3 separate regions of the Homo sapiens genome follow, and regions 2 and 3 are each linked to region 1. Evidence: promoter capture Hi-C in 16 types of primary human blood cells and fetal thymus (Javierre and others, 2016). All regions are on one chromosome and are shown on one strand. The core of a region is centred on a gene start or on the middle of the fragment in contact, and the rest is flanking DNA. Distances in the headings are between cores, read along the strand shown.

What was found. Contacts are between HindIII fragments. The CHiCAGO score rates a contact against its expected background, and 5 or more counts as called.
Region 2: a fragment that was not itself captured here is called in contact with the fragment with the promoter of LDLRAD3 in region 1 in 1 of 17 cell types (endothelial precursors); the score reaches 5.6 in endothelial precursors.
Region 3: a fragment that was not itself captured here is called in contact with the fragment with the promoter of LDLRAD3 in region 1 in 2 of 17 cell types (endothelial precursors and erythroblasts); the score reaches 8.8 in endothelial precursors.

Annotation. Positions count from the first base shown.
Region 1 is chr11:35,942,456-35,945,964 of GRCh38, reverse strand. It overlaps LDLRAD3 (low density lipoprotein receptor class A domain containing 3), which reads right to left and starts at 1,903. Exons shown (of 6, transcript NM_174902.4): 1 at 1,821-1,903. The coding sequence starts at 1,866. RefSeq lists a silencer at 1,553-1,992. The HindIII fragment of the contact is 2,245 bases long and covers 1,208-3,452 here.
Region 2 is chr11:35,731,848-35,735,295 of GRCh38, reverse strand. The region is part of intron 3 of TRIM44 (tripartite motif containing 44); the gene reads right to left. Among named protein-coding and RNA genes, the nearest start is that of TRIM44, 71 kb to the right of the region's middle. The HindIII fragment of the contact is 791 bases long and covers 1,306-2,096 here.
Region 3 is chr11:36,162,922-36,166,651 of GRCh38, reverse strand. The region is part of intron 4 of LDLRAD3 (low density lipoprotein receptor class A domain containing 3); the gene reads right to left. Among named protein-coding and RNA genes, the nearest start is that of COMMD9, 120 kb to the left of the region's middle. The HindIII fragment of the contact is 573 bases long and covers 1,892-2,464 here.

The DNA.
Region 1 (3,509 bases), core at 654-3,153:
CCACCAGGGACAGTTGGACTATTCCTCCCCCTATCCGTCTGCTCCTTGCTATGACCATTTTATTTATTTTAGCCCTATCTCAGATGTACACACACACATTAAATAGCCACTGCTGACCAGAGAGGGACAAAATTAACTTTACAACTATTTTTACAGAGATGGAGACTCAACTAAAGCAACCCAGTACCAACTGGGAGATGCAATAAATAAGTTTCCATTTGGCTACAGTGGCTCTCCCAGGACACACACAAGAGCCAGCTTCCATACTGTCCTTCTCAGGTGCTATGAGGGGACACACCACAGCTACACAGATTGAATTTGTGAATCCAAACAGGTCTTCATATCTGTAGACGCCCTGAAAATCGACCTGCTCTAACAGCCTCCAAACAATTCACACCTGCTCCTGGCTGCCCAATGTCCTGTGAGAACTCTCTCCCCAGGTGGACTAATTTAAGGGCACTCTCACCCAGACCTGGTTAAAAATCCACAGCAGTCACCAGGAGGTCTAGTCCCTCCCTGGAAGCCCAGCAAACCCATAAGCATCTAAATGGGGTATCAGAGGAGTGGAGATGATGTCATGGGTCTGAGAGCAGGAAAGGCTGCCCAGTGGGCTGTGAGGATGCCCAGGACCAGGGACATCAAGGAAGAGAGGAGATATCCCTTTAACGCATTCATAACTCCAAGGCACAGCTAAGAATGAAGTGAGCCTCAACTTAGCAAACCCACAGGCCACCAAAGACACCTCGACAGCCAAGCTGCTAGAAGCACTTGGCAAAATAGGGCAGCTATTGGACATGTGGATGGCACAAACACCAGGCAGGCAAGATTCTGCTGAAGAAAGTTCACTGGGCCCTGTCACCCACATTCTAGGCATCAGATGCCCAGAAATAAACGTCAAGGGGCCAAGGGCGGGCCCAGTCCAGGAGGGACAGCTGACAGCTGTGGGCGGCGGGCAGGGGCAGAGGAGGAAGGGCTCCCAGGCTGGAATTCGGATCATGCCCACATCAGCAGAAAAGTTCCTGGGAACAGCACGCTGTCTGGAAGGGAAAGAGGCTTGCTGCGGTCCAGGCCCCGGGATGCACACGCGGTGGTGATGCCAGGTTCAAAGGGCCGCCGGATGAAGCCCCGTGTCCTCTCCCAGGGCCCCTCGCCGGTCAGGGCGCCCATCGCGGGGCAAGTAGGGTGGTCAGACGTCTTAAATAAAGCTTCGGTTCCCAGGATCAGTGGGGAAAAATGAATTCCCAGATCCGGCCTTGCTTCAACTCACTTTACCCAAACCAAACAGTCCCAGAGAGGAATGAAAGGAAGCAGCTTTGCTACTCCCTCCGCGGTGCAGGTGGGGAAACTGAGGCACGGAGTGCACGCCAGAGACTCGGGAAGAGGCCCAGAGGAGGCTAACGCAGCCGCGCGCGACCAGGCGTCTGGGAAGATGAGACCAGGGAAGAGTTCTCTCCTCTCCTCTCCTTTCCTTTCCCCGCCTCCGTTCCTCAACACACACAACACACACACAGCCACACTCGAGCTACGCCCAATCGGGGCAGCCGCCGGGCTCCCCAGACCCGGACTGCACACAGAGCCCCGCCCGCGCACACAGCACAACACGACCCGGCGCGCACGCCCACACAATAGGACGGCTCGCACCCCGCGGCGGCCCCTCGGCAGGGTCCGGGCCAGCCCGGCGCCGGGGTCCGCCCTCCGCGCTCACCCACGCCCGGAGAGCGGCCCGCGCCCGGGAGAGGACGCGATCGCACCCGGCCGCTGCGCCCCGCGCCCCGCGCCCCGCGCCCCGCGGGAAGTTCGCCGGCCGCCCCCCGACTCACCCGCGGCGCTGCTCAGCAGCAGGCACAGCGGCCCCAGCAGCCACATGGCGCGGCCGCCGCTCCCGCTGCCCGGCGTCGTTGCTGCCCCCGCGGCCTCGGCGCTGACCCCGCCCCTCGCCGCGCCGTCCCCGCCCTCCCGCCTGGCCCTCCTCCCTCCCGCCTTCCCCGGGCCCGGCCCCGGCCCGGCTCCGCTAAGTTTTGCAAGCGCCTGGGCTGCGCGTGGCCACCCGCATGTTACCCTGGGTGTCCTGACTCCGAGGGGCCGCCGAGCGCGGCGGAGGGTTCAGCCTTTCGGTCTCTCAGCCTTTCAGCCTCCCAGGTCTGGCCGCGAGGATCTTCTAACAGCCTGGGCTCTGTTCTCTGCTTCCTTTTGTCCCTCTCATTTCTGCCTTTGCTTCCACACCCAGCGAGATGCAGCGCCCAGACCAAAACTTGAGTTCTTTACTCAAACTACAAAGTGAGTTTACTACCGAGAGAGAAAAAGTTAAAATAAAGGGTCAAATCTTATGAGAAAATTGTAGTATATTTTTAGTAGCGAGTGTGGAATACCAGTGCTTCTCAAACTTTAATATGCATCCGGCACACTTGACGATCTTGTTAAAATACTGACTCTGGTTCAGTAGATCTGGCGTGGAGCCTGAGATTCTGCATTTTTAACAACATGGTGGCTGATTCCAAGGCTGATGATCCGGGAGCCACCGGTAAGAGCAGCTGACACCTACCATGCACACAGCGTGGACCACATGAGTTATTTTGTCTGCATAGTGTCCACCTTGACCTGTTGAACGTTTGGGACCCAATTTGGAAAAAATAAAATTAAAAAAAGGAAAAGGTCATGAAAGGCAGATACCCAAATGCAAAAAATATAGCTGCACCAATGCACTTGCTTCCAGAGGGCACTGGTGAAAAGCCCCAAAAGACTTAGATGGTGGAAGAAGGGGATGACACTTCTGTGCTCCACTCTCTCTGATCCCCCACCCAAAAAAAGCAAAAGACTAACGCAAATAATTGCCAAAAACTGGAAACAACTCAAGTGTCCATCAATTGATAAATGGATCAATAAATTAAAACTTTTGGGGGCAGTGGGACTGTTCTAATCTTGATTATAGAGGTAGTTACACAACTGTATACATTTGTCAAAACAATAGAACTGCATCCCTAAAATCCACCCCTCAAAAGGGTTGAGTTTATTTACACAAACTCCACCTGGCTGAAAGAAAGGGGAAGGTATGGGTACAGGGGCAGTTATAAAAGGGATGCCTGCGTCAGATTTTGGGATGCCCTGGAGACACCCTCAAGGGTGTTAAGATTCAATTACTTTACTCTGTAATTGCGTGCTGTAGTCTGGAAACATAAAGGCTAAAAAGGATCAGGTCAAAATTTAAAAATACCAATGATTGTTCAAGGTAATGAGAAAATGTGATGTGAGGGAGGAAAGGTTAAGTTCCATAGTTCATAGTACACATGGAAAATATAAATCAATTATCTAAATGATTTGGCATTCGGGGCTTTTATCCTGGGATTGATGAATATTATGGAGATCGTCCCATGGGCTTCAAAGAATTTTAAAGCCCTTAAAATTTTATGCAAAATGTCCTGTGCATGTGGGTATGTGCATTGTTCCGGGAAGCTTGTTGGGAAGAGGCCTCCTGCCTTTGATAATAATATCTGAGGAGGCAAATAAGCAAA
Region 2 (3,448 bases), core at 452-2,951, 210 kb after region 1:
CAACAGACATCTAAAGGCTAAGACAAGAGCTAATATAATCCTATGTTCAAACTGCCCAGTGGAGATGACCTGATAATTTGCCCTGACAAGCAGAGCAGAGAAGTGAATGCACAGACCTAGGAGGCCTAAATAATTGCCTTGCCTTTTTATTTGTATGGCTGGCAGTATTTAGTTCTTAGCAAAGTGAGAAACCCAAAATAGAGGCACGTCTTAGACAAAAGCTAGCCAGTTCCAAAAACATCAAACTGTTTCCTTCAAAGACTCATTTCTGCCTTGTTCTAGCATTTTTCATCAAACATGAACACTGCAATTCTAATATAAAGAACACTGTGGTATAAAGGGCACTGAACTGGGACTCAAGAAATTGGGATTCTAGTCCAAGCTCTGTTACTTATTAGTTATGTGTCCTTGGGCAAACATTAATTAATCTGGACTTTGGTCTTCTCCTCCGTAAGTGGTTAGTTCTGGCATTTGATGATCCACATCATTCTTCCATCAAACAATGGCTCTTCTCTTTTTCTTGCCCACTTTTCAAAAACAATGTGTTAACATTATTTTTCCAGGTATGGCATTCTCTCAACCTAACTTTATCAGAAGTGATCACAGCAGATTCCTTTGAGCTTCCTTCTGTGATCAAATTAGATTTTTCAAATAACTCTCAAGCCTTTCCCAAGGGACCTCATTCATCCTTTTGGTGTCAGCGTATCTTTTATATCCTTCTTTTTAGCCATTGAAGGGTAGTCTCAATAGAGAATGTACATTCTGGTTGTACTCCTCGGAGAATGAATGAATGAATGAATGGTTCCTACTGGTATAAGGCAGAATGAGCTCTCAAGTCCGATGTTCTGGGTTCAAGTCTTAACCCTATCACTCTACTGCTCTAATAGCTTACTCATGTTATTTTGCCTTTCTTAACTTCAATTTCCTAATTTGTAAAATGGGGTAATAATTGTCTCTGTATCATAGGATGAGTATGAGGATTAAATGAAATAATGCTTATAATCATCAAACACAGTGCCTGTGACACAGGATGTATTTAATAAAGGCTATATATCAGTATCAGTAACAATTCAGTAGGATTCATTAAGAAGCTACTATATATATATATGCTAACTAAGGAAAAACAATCACTCATAATGATCTAACCTTCTAGGATTTTCGAATCAGGAGCATGAGAAACAGGCAGAAAGAAAATGAACTATTACTAAATGTGTTATGATCAATATCAAAGACATAAACAGAATAATATGAGAATCAACAGGGAAGTTATGAACACTGCCTCTCCTGGAGAAGGTGGGAAAAGCTTCACACACAGAAGGTAACATTGATATTGCCACTTTGAGGGATAAATAGTATTTTCCCAGGCTGACAACAGAGAAAAGTGGGAAGAACACTGAACTAGCAAGAGCAAAGGCAAATTTCTAAAAATGTGTTGTTCAAGGGACCTTGAGTTCTGTGAAACTACAGAATGGGGATGTGCACATGTGTGTTTTGGGCAGGGCGCTGGGGGTGGTATAAGGTTGGAACTGAGGGCAATGTGGGGTTGAGCGTGACTGAGGTAAAGGGAGACTGCCAGGGTGCAAGCCTGTAAAGTACAGCTGCAGCCAGAAAGGTGATTTAAATCAAACTAGCCATTTGAGGTCGAATAAGAAGGGCATTTTTGGCAGACTGTTAAAGATCTGCAATAGTGGGAAGGGCGTTAATCATCCACACTCCAACTAGAGGGAAGTAGGGCGAGTGGTAGAGGGAGGGTATAGGGATGGTGGAAAATTTCTTCGCATTTTTATCATCTGATATGTCTCATGGGATCTATAATATACCAATAAAAAGTTATATAATTTAAATTTAACATGAGTTACATAACTATGAATGACATAATTATATCTCAACACAAATTTTTCAATTATTTTTGGATGTTTAAGCCTAATTGTCTAAGATAACTTTATGGAAAAAATATCTAAACTTTCTCCCATAATTTAGAGCAAGTCCTCCTCAAAATCACATACCTTGGTGTAATGATTAAGAGACAGGGTTTCTCAGTTATAATATAAAAACATGGTCTCAAATTCTGGTTCATTAATCCCAAAAGTGAAGCTTTTGGCAATTTTCTTCTCCAAGGTTCAGTTTCTCCATCTGCACATAAAGATCCTAGTTCTTACCTCAAAGGGTCACCATATGGATTAAAATAAATGAGAAAATCTGTGTAAAACACTAAGCAAGTGTCTAGTACCTTGTAATCGTTCAACAAATAGTAGCCATTATTTTACTTTCCTTGAATTGTTAATTAATAACATTTCTAGGGGAGAGCGGGGAAGGACAGAAAAGATGGGACACAAAGTTTTGCTATATGTTCATCCAATTCTACTGCTTATAGATGTATGCTTCTTTTCAGAAACAATGGTCACTGTTACAAAGCAAGAATATACACACACATATGAATTATAAAGCCGTTTTGAATAGGTTGGCACGGAGAGGATTGCTAACCTTGCTAGTAAAAGATATGCATGTGATGTTCCTGCTACCTGAAATGCACATCCCTATTCTAAAAACCTAGCTAATTCCTATCTATCCTTTAAGATCAAGCCTTACTCGAAACTTCTTCACTAACATCTTGAATAAGTTAATCCTCCTCCTTTCTCCCACATTTGTAGGGTTTGCCACTCTACACTAGTACTTAGAGAAGAAAACTGACAATGACAACATCAAACAGTGCCTCCCTCTTTGGATTTCAACTCCTTGAGAATAGAACTTGTGTTTTGCTCATTTCTGTATTCACCGCACCTAACACAGCACAAGGCTCATAGTAAATAATTATTCAAGATATAGGTAAGCTTTAAGATTAATTTCTACTCCTATTATAAGCAAATTCTGGTTTCAGAGAATATCAGAAGTGAGAGTCTATTAAATACCAACTTCCATTTAAATGACTTGTTAGATTAAGCACTGCTCCCAAATCCCTAATTATCACAAATGCTCTTTGTGATATCTGATGGCAGACTGCACTCTTGTGCAACCTCCCATTTCTACCTCCACCAGTGGAAATGTTGTTCACCAAGAATCAAACAAGGCTGTTTATATGAACTTGTAATGATGACACATTTAATTAAATAACAAAAAGTGAATGCAAGAGAGATAACTTGCTCACATAAGAACTAAGTTGAATGCATCCACAGAATTTAATAAAGATGAATTACTTAAAAATTGTTGTCAATTTTGGTGTAGGTGAAACACAAGCAAAATACTAGAAACAGTAAGTTATAAGAACTAAGATTCTGCATTCAGCTTGCTTTGAATGGTATCACCCTCACTATAGACAGTCTGAAATTGGACCTTATAAATGGCGCAAAATGGGTATGGTTTAGCCAGAAACATGACATTTAACTCTAATTAGCAAACCCATATTTTCAAAGTCCTTGCCTCAGAATAAAAAAAAAAGTACAAATATGTT
Region 3 (3,730 bases), core at 929-3,428, 220 kb before region 1:
TCTAAAGTAAAGGGTCAAAGAGGAAGAATTAAGAAACAAAGTAGAAATAACAGGGAAATTTGAAATAAGTCATCTCTCTTATTAATCAATATACACCTTACCAATAGTGGAAAATAAATAAATATTTGTCAAACAAATGGACAAAAGAATACATGAATGAAATGGGCTCTTTGTAACAGAGGTTTTCTAACAAACTGGCTTCTATTTACAAGGAAAGCCTTTAGGCAAAAGAGAAAAATTTCATTTCCACCCTCCAGAGTCCAGGTCACCTTTCCCCCTTCCATGTCTCACTGAGAGGCACTGCCATGCCGATGTGATTACCTGGTGACAGTGTCTCACTTGAATACTCATGTCTTGCTCTAGGCTCCCACTGTAACTCATGTTGACATGGAGCAATGTTTCATTTCCAGATCCATATGTATGAATTTTTAATGAACTGTGTCAAAGAAATCAAATATTTCCCCCTGCATTCCCACTCTATGGAATCAGATTTTGACCTTCTGCCAAACAACTATAAATCATGTTCAGCGGAAAGAGCAGGAACCAGGGGCTACTGCACATAGATTAGCCAGTCAATTTCCCTCTGTCAGCCCTTCACCTAAGCTGTCTAGGATGGGAGAGGAGGGAGGAGAGGAGAGGATGGAATAGAGGAAGGAAGGAAGGAAGGAAGGAAGGGAGGGAGGGAGGGAGGGAGGGAGGGAGGGAGGAAGCAAGCCAGTCAGCCTAGAAAAGAAATATAAACAGTAGGCACTCAACGGTTACTAAAATATTTAAGCCATAAAAATGAGATCACTTATTTTTTGAAACCTGGGTGATCATCTTGTTAACTAGAATCTTTGGATCATTAATTCCCTGCTTCTGTAATTTGGTCTTATATTTCTTCATGTAAGATGACTTAAAACTGGGGGGTGGGAGGGGGAGGTGAGAAGTTTGAAAAAGTAGAATGAAAATAAATAATTTCCTTTTTCAAGAGCACTTTCCTAGAATTTCCAATGAACTATGCAAAACACAGCAGGACCTTCCTAAATAAAGGCTCAATCAACACTTAGAAGGGAGCTGCAATTAGATACCATTTCTTGCCTAGCAGTGCAAGAATGATTTTTTAAAATGATAATATCCTATGTTGGCAATTACGTGATGAAAAAAAGGTTCTATCAAATTGCTTGTGGGGGTGTAAACAGATATCCATTTGGATAACAAGTTAGTAATATAAGTGTAATGGGCCCTAAAGGTGTTCATACCTCATATAAATCTTACGGTAATCTATCCTAAGGAAGTAATTCAAAAGACGAAAGCAAAAAAAAAAAGGTTTAAAGCCATCACAACTTCGTCTACAACAATGTATTGACAAAATCTAAATGTTCATCAATAGATGTGTGGCTAAGTAAAATAAGATGCACCCATTTAATAGAATATCATACAACCATTAAGAATGCTTACTAAGAGTTTATAACAACATGGGAAAATATTTATTAATATAAGTGGGAAAAAAAGTAGGATGTAAAACTGAATAAAAAGTATCACGGTTGCAAGAACAAAAAGCCTCCATTGCCTAGGCATGGAAAAGGATATGGGAGGAAATACGCCAACTGCTAATAGTGATTATTTATGGAAGCAGGAAATGTGGGTAAAATTTTCCCTGTTCTATATTTTCCAAACATCCTGTAATGAGTATATGTACTTTTATAATGGGAACATAAGATTTTATTGTGCTTTTGAAAAGCAAGTCAGTTGTATAAGTAAAATTCTAAAAGATATCTCTTTCAACAAACAATAGCAACTGGGTCATGGCTAATTCAAGGTGAAGCACATTTGTAAATATCAAATTTTCTAATCTAACATCCAGATCTGGGACATAGAAGAATCTGGCGGGCTGCCTGCTCGCAAAGCTTCTATCTCTGTCCAAAACACTGCACTTAAGAAGTTAAAGGAAGAGTCAGAGCTGTCAGCTTTAAGCCAGTAGATTCTAGGATGATTCAAATAGCTGTCATAGACACTCCATTTGCTAAAGCTCACTCACTGGAAGGGGATCTGCCACACAGGGCTGAAGAACAGACACACGGATGGACAGACATGGATTATATCGGACCCTGCTGCTTGCCAGCAATCATCCCCACTCACAGCATTTTCCTTTCTTGGCAAGTTTGTACACTTAAAAGCTACCAACTCTCGCTTTTTTACCCTGTTCAAGCAAAAAATTTTGAAGCAAGCCATCTGTGCCTGGAAATGAGCAGCAATCTAAGACCATATGCAAGTGCAGGGGCAGGGGCACAATTCCATTTGAGTGATGAGTTTATTGATAAATGTTCTAAGTGGCTGACTCTTGTTCAATTTTAAATAAAGCAACACTTGGGTATTTTAAATAGGTGAAACAGCATCAGCAGCAGGCAGCTTGTGATGAGCAAACCCAACGCCCATGTGCTTCACATAAGACATCTTAACAATTTTCATCACCATGGAAGCTTGTATGAGATGCACAGGGACAGAGCGTGGCTGAGATTCCCAGGGCTCAACCATGATATCAGCTCCTGTGTGACCTAGAGGATCACCCAGGGCAGTGGTAAGAGGCTGGAAAATGGCTCCTTCTAGAAAGATGTCTTAATTCAGTTCTGTCACCGATTTCCTCTCTTCCCACTGGAAGCTCTAGGTCTCTATTTTCTTAATCCAGTCAGGCAGGACATAGATCAAAGCAGTGAAAACTGAAGCCACTCAGCACTAGGGACAAAGATGAAAACGGGAGCAAAATTGAGGTGGCTCATTCAGTGCTCTAAACCAGTGAACTTCCACCATTTGAGACACTATTCCCCCAATATATGTATATTTCCATTATATACATGATCCCGTCAATCTATATATCAAATCTAAAGCTTTTCTTTCTTCCTGCCCTTCTTCCCCTCCCCTTTTCCCTTTCTCTCTCCCTTTTCCCTCCCTCCCTCCCTCCCTTCCTTCCCTAAACAATCACCTTGCACACATCCCTCTTTGGAAGACTGTTCTAAACACTCAAGTGGGTTATCAAATGGGTGCAGGAGTGAAGGGGTGGGAAAGGCAGTGCATTTCCTACCTTTACAGTCTTGCAGAGGGAAACCATCCTGAAAAGGATTTCCACATATGGTTGGTAGGTATCTTACATCACCATTCTCCGAAATCTATTTACCTACACTGGGCACTTGACTATACCCAGTCACACATCATATGCAGGGAAGTAAGGCTAGGCTTCATTAATGTGGATCCCATAAGCTAATTCAAACCAGGCTGGGCTAAGCCACACCTCGGTGCTGTGTATTAAGAAGAATGGGTCTGCTGAATAATCAGAGTGGAGAAAGTGGCAGCAGTCAGGGGGATGTTTAATTGCTGGAAGGGAATAGACTCTTTTCAGGCTCCATTTATAGCCAAGCAATCCATCTACCAATTACAGGCAAGTTCTTATCCAGACATTAAAGCAGGCAACTGCCTGTGTTGGAAATCAACCAAAACTGCTTATCTTCAGCCTTCCATAATTCCAGACCTTTTGCTGATCCGCCCTGGCTTCTCGCCTAATGCGTTTGCATTGCTTTTTCTGCTCCCACTTTTAGCCCCTAGAGTTTACCCTGATATCAAACACCCATGAAGACACACAGGCAAGGCAGTGAGCAGATCTTTGTTTTAACTGCTTGGGGAAGGAAGAAGCTGTTTGGTCTCTTGGGTCTGTATTTGGCCTGCTGAACATCACAGCTGCTGAGCCCTTGTGGAT